2 separate regions of the Homo sapiens genome follow, and region 2 is linked to region 1. The links are contacts of gene promoters, found by promoter capture Hi-C in blood cells and fetal thymus (Javierre and others, 2016). All regions are on one chromosome and are shown on one strand. Each heading gives the region's core, a stretch centred on a gene start or on the middle of the fragment in contact. The rest is flanking DNA. Distances are from core to core; before and after follow the strand shown. Region 1 holds the start of GGCT (gamma-glutamylcyclotransferase). Region 2 overlaps SCRN1 (secernin 1).

Evidence for each region. Contacts are between HindIII fragments. The CHiCAGO score rates a contact against its expected background, and 5 or more counts as called.
Region 2: a contact is called between a fragment that was not itself captured here and the fragment with the promoter of GGCT in region 1, in 2 of 17 cell types (total B cells and neutrophils). The highest score is 6.3, in total B cells.

The regions. Positions count from the first base shown.
Region 1 is chr7:30,503,477-30,506,176 of GRCh38, reverse strand. GGCT (gamma-glutamylcyclotransferase) reads left to right here and starts at 1,348. Exons shown (of 4, transcript NM_024051.4): 1 at 1,348-1,608. The coding sequence starts at 1,468. RefSeq lists enhancers at 873-962, 382-1,260, 1,403-1,612, 1,261-2,140 and a silencer at 1,763-1,942. The HindIII fragment of the contact is 6,754 bases long and covers 1-2,700 here.
Region 2 is chr7:29,951,063-29,953,966 of GRCh38, reverse strand. The region is part of intron 3 of SCRN1 (secernin 1); the gene reads left to right. Among named protein-coding and RNA genes, the nearest start is that of FKBP14-AS1, 36 kb to the left of the region's middle. The HindIII fragment of the contact is 1,600 bases long and covers 672-2,271 here.

The sequences.
Region 1 (2,700 bases), core at 99-2,598:
TTTTGTAAAGAGAACTGTTTCCTCATCAACTGATGCTCGTCATCAGCTGTATTTCAGTTACCCCGAAATACAGCTGCTACTAGAAAGGCGGAATACCTGTTTGTTTTCTTAAATTATCACTTTGCAGAGTAAAGTTGGTGTAATAGTCACCACCAATAGTGTGGCAAATGAAGTTATAGTTTTTTTTTTAATTTGGATTACTCTTTGGGGGGAATGGCTTTTTTATGTTTAAAGTTTCCAATCATTTTTCAGTTTGCAGTCATTGTTATTTTTGATTCTCAAATTGTTCTAATTTTGGCCAGTGGGCAACTTCAGGCTGGTTCCCATGTCCTTTTAGAAGGACCTCGTTCGTCTTGAGAGGCGTCCTGAGCTTCTGACACAAGATGTTCCAAGTTGTCCTCATTCACTCCTAGCTCCTGACCTGGCATCAGTCATTTCTCGAAGGATCACTTGGTACCTTTTAGTGGGGGGTGGTATTTAGAGATTAATAGCTGGGTGTCAAGGATAGACAATGTTCCTATGCCCTTATGTTCATTCAAAAGTTAACAATATAGGTTTTAAAAAATACACCCAGGATGTGTGTGTGTGTGGGAGGGGGTAACCAAAACACAATATAGGGGTTTCTACTGTGACCCTAACTTATATTATGATCCCGATTTTTAAAAAGAGGAAACGGAGACCAGAGGTGCCCAAAGTTACTTGGCTAGTAAATGGCAGCGTCGGGATTTAAGCCCAGGCATGTAACTTCCATGTAACAGGGAAGGGAGTCCCAAGCATTCAGAGGGGCCGCTCCAGCAGGCGACGGGTCCGTGGAAAGGGGTCAGATTGATGACCAGTGCTGGGGGTGCCGGAACCAGCAGAAAGGGTGAACGGACCCGTCCTGCCCGACTCCTCTAGGCCAGGAAGGCAGGACCCGGCGAGCTGCCGGATGAGGGAGCCGTTGATGGAGTCGCCTGGGCCGCTGTTTCGCCTCAGATCTGACCAGAACTTCCTAAGGCACAGAAAGTACCAAAGAACCACACACAAGCACCCCAGAGCGAAGAAACCAGTCACGCGCCACGACCTTCAGCCAGTGTCCATGGGACCCGACCCGCCTGTGAGGAGTGCCTGTCCACCCCTCAATCAGAGGAAGCCTTGAGCAAGGAGGGGCGGGACATCAGTAGGTCGTGTCCAATGAGGAGCCAGCGCCGGATTGCTTCAGGACAGACTATTTCTGAGTCTCGGCGGAAGGCGGAGGGAAGGCCGTGGGGATGGCCAATCAAAGGGGGCGACTCAGGTCGGTGGGGACCGGCAGCCAATCAGGAGAGCGCTCGCTCCTGACTCGACCGGCCCACGCTTCCCGCCAGTCCCCTAACCCTGAGGCTGCCGCGCGGCGGTCACTGCGCCGGGGTAGTGGGCCCCAGTGTTGCGCTCTCTGGCCGTTCCTTACACTCTGCTTCAGGCTCCAGTGCAGGGGCGTAGTGGGATATGGCCAACTCGGGCTGCAAGGACGTCACGGGTCCAGATGAGGAGAGTTTTCTGTACTTTGCCTACGGCAGCAACCTGCTGACAGAGAGGATCCACCTCCGAAACCCCTCGGCGGCGTTCTTCTGTGTGGCCCGCCTGCAGGTGAGTGCCCCCTCCCGCGCTACCCACGCCGGGGCCGGGATGCCCAGAAGGCGCTTCCTCGGGGGCACACGTGGCCGATCGGGCCAGGAATGCAGTTCTTCTTGATGAGGGTACTAGGACGCGGCTTCCGCCTCCTGGGCGGGTCCACCTCCTCCGCTGCGCCCACTGCCCGGCCCTGCCCGGGCCACGGTGCCCTCTCGGGCTGCCTGGAGCTTTCCCCCTCCTGGCCTTTGCACCGGCTGCTCGGTCTGCACCGATTTGGCCTCTCGTCCACTAACTTAACAGATTGCATACAGTTGGTACTTCTGGAGAGTCTTCTCTGACCCGTGTCTGGGAATTGGTTGCCTTCTGTTCTGTACATAACCTTTGTTACAGCACTTCTCACCTGGCATTGTGAAAATCCGTTTACCTGCCTTTCGCTCCTCATCTAAGAGGTCCTGAAAGCTGGGACCATGTCTTATTTGTAATAATGCTGTGTTCAGTTAGGTCAAGGGGCTGCATGAACTATAACCAGTGTTGGTAAATCATTGCTCTTCAGCCCAGTCCATTCATTCATTTAGTACATATTCTTCCGGCACTTAACACTAAGGGTATAAACATGATTGAGTAAAGTGGCTGTTTCGAGGAACTCTCAGTCTGTAGGACAGAGGTGCAATAGATTATGTTCAAAACCTTTTTGACAGCGTCGAATGAGACAAACATGATCTCTGCTAACATCGTGAGTTCTTAGTTGCAAGCAACAGAAACTGGCTGATTTAAGCAAAAAAAAAAAAAAAAAAAAAAAAAAGAATGTGTTGAAAGGCTATTGGAGAGCTCACAGAATGACCAGGAAGGCAGGAGTACAAAGCTGACAAAACGGACAAGCATAAAGGGAGGCACAGCAACTGTAATACAGTGGGCATCACACAACAGAACCAGCCCACGGAGCCTCTTCCACGCCACTGCTGAACTTGGTAAACGTGGATGCTGTATTGTCCACCACCCCCTGCCCTGGACACTGCCTGCCTCTGTACATCCCTGCAGTTCCTGAAACCCAAATGTGTCAGCCTCTCTGGAGTCCCTGCTGTCTTGGGCACTAGCTTCTAATTGAAA
Region 2 (2,904 bases), core at 222-2,721, 550 kb after region 1:
GTTCTTGGCTTTCAGTGTGGATGTACCAAGTTACATCACCTCTCTGGGCCACAGTTTCCTCATTTTTTCAATATGAGGTCTAGATTGGATGACTTCCGAAGAACTCCCAAAGCTAACATCCTAGAAAAAGGAATGGGGTTGGATTTTGGTTTTGTAGGGGGAAATGGCACATTTAGACAGTGGTCTCGGGAACTCACTCCTCTGCCACCTGATGGAGAGGTCTGCGAGGGACACCCTTTTGGTAGCACAGTGACTTCCTGCCTTCCTTACCTTTCCTTACTGTTCCTCATTCTTATAAACTCAGGAGGAGCAGCTTCCCTGAGCTGGGGAAAAGGCAGAAAAAGCCAGTTTTTAAAAACCAGTTATATATAGCTAGTTTTCTCTTGATTAGCAAAATGAAATGTATAGAATAACAAGAAGTTTTTTTTTTTTTAGCTTATGTTTTGACAGCTCTCCAGTATTTTTTACTGTATTTGCAGTATGAGACTTATAGAACAGGCAAAATTACCATTTTAACAGTTGATTTCTAAGGGACAGTGGAAGAGGATTTTTTGCCTTTCTTCAGAGCACCTGATATATCTTTTTAAGATTATCAACCAATAAAGCAACAGGAGTTTACTGAATATCTACTTTGTTCTAGACTCTGTGGGTACATGAAGCAGCTCAAAGCTTCAAAGGGATTTTAGTCTGGTTGCAGGAAGAAGAAAATTGAGCAATGGAAATTTTAAGAATAATATAAGAAGATAGTAGGAGAGAGGTAACTCAAAGTGATCTGAGATTTGATGCCACGTGAATGGCACAGAATTCCAGGGTGTGGCCTTCAGCAAACACTGCGGGATGTTCACAGATTATCACAGACTGGTCATATTTGGGAATGCTTTGAGGGGCAGGTTCATTTGACCTGAAGCTGCAAGGCTGAGGGAGGTAGACACAGAAGATATGTTTGTCACAGACTTGGCATTGTGATAATTAGCAAGGTCAGGAGTAGATGACAGGGTGAGAGTTTAACCTTCACCATATAACGTTAACTCCATCTTGGGCTAGCCATGTCCAGCTATTGTAATAAAAAGGGTGTGAAGAGCACTGGTAGGTTCTTCAGGGTGGGGATGGAGTCACAGGCATCTGCACCTTAAGTGGATCTTTTGAGTTCATCTTTAAAGCAGCTATGATCAGTTCAGCCAAGCATAGCCAGATTTTGAAGGGTCATTTCATACCAACCAAATCCTAAAAGTAACTCATGCTCATTACCCAGCATTCTCTCTCTCTCTCTCTTTTTTTTTTTTAGACAAGTCTTGCTCTGTTTCCTAGGAGTGCAGTGGTATGATCTCGGCTGATTGCAACCTCCGCCTCCCAGGTTCAAGCGATTCTCCTGCCTCAGCCTCCTGAGTAGATGGGATTACAGGTGTATGCCACCACACCCAGCTAATTTTTGTATTTTTAGTAGGGACGGGGTTTCACCATGTTGACCAGGCTGGTCTCGAACTTCTGACCTCAAGTGATCCGCCTGCCTCAGCCTCTCAGAGTGCTGGGATTACAGGCGTGGACCACCACATCCCACCCCAGATTTCCTTTTTAATGATTTAATTCTAGTATTAATTTTTAAGAAGCTCCAGATGATATTGATACTACAAGTCAAAAAACCACAGTTTGAGTGGCAAGTTCTAGAGTAGTGGTTCTCAAAGTATGGCTGGTGAACAAGCATCACCTGGGAACTTGCTAGAAATGTAAATTGTCGGTCCCTATTTCACACCCAGGGGCCAGCAACCTGTTTTAACAAGTTCTCCAGCTGGTGCTGATGCACGGTTACGGTGAGAACCGCTGCTCCACAGGAAACTTTCTATCAGTTGGTTTCATTCTCTTAATTTGGGGCTCAGTGCCTCCCTAGGTATTGCTGTGTGAGGAACCACTACTTTCTCTGGCCTTGCTTGCACTCTGTGTCTAGTGCCAGTTCCTCCCTGGACAGCTTCTATGAGAGCAGGCTATGTCCATTTCACATGCTCTTTCAAGGGCCTGCTAGACTGTGGTTGATTATTCAATGAATACAGTAGTTGCCCCTATACTTATCCTGGTACTTTGCACTTTCCAGCAGCATGTGAAATCCAACCTCAGTTCAAAGAGACATAAGGGAATGACAGTAGCAATGTAATAGGCACTGATTTTAAGATAAAGGTATAATTTGTGTATGTTTCCTAGAGGCTTGTGGGAATGTAAGCATTAGGCAATATTGTTTTTATAATGCGTTTTCAGTGACATTTATCTCAAAGCTAAGCTTCATCTGTTATTTTTGATTCACTGTTCTCTGACCACTAGTCCCTTTCTCCTGAGGAAGAGGCATATAAAGACACGTACACATTTTTGCATGTTTCATGAAGTTGGTTCCAAGTAATGAGTAGCCAATAGAAGCTAACATAAAAGTGGGAATTTGGCCAGGTGCAGTGGCTCATGCCTGTAATCCCAGTGTCACACGATCCTTACGGTGTTGCTTTTCCAGCCGGAAACCTCTGTGGCTGGTGGCACCTTTGCCTGAGTTTTGGTCGGGCTGCTGGGCTTGTTCCACCACTTGGCCCTGCACACTGTACTCAGCTTATGCTACTGGCCTGGATCCCATGCCTTCCAAGCACAAGCCAGGCGCAGAGAGGAAAGGGGTGTGTGAGCAAGCATGGGGTCCAGCCACTGCACACAGCCAGGTGTGCCAGCTGTGGCGGGATGGGCAGCTCTAGGCGTTGGCACAGGCACTAGCTCTGTGCGAGGCTGCAGCTGGACCAGGCGTACTGCAAATGGCTTCCACTGCAGTCACCAAGAAACGTGGTGCCTGGAAGCTTGGAAATGCCAGGAACTGCAGAGCCCCAAAGAGAGTGTCACAGTCCTGGCTCAGGGAGCCCCTAGGTCTGGACTCCCCAAAGG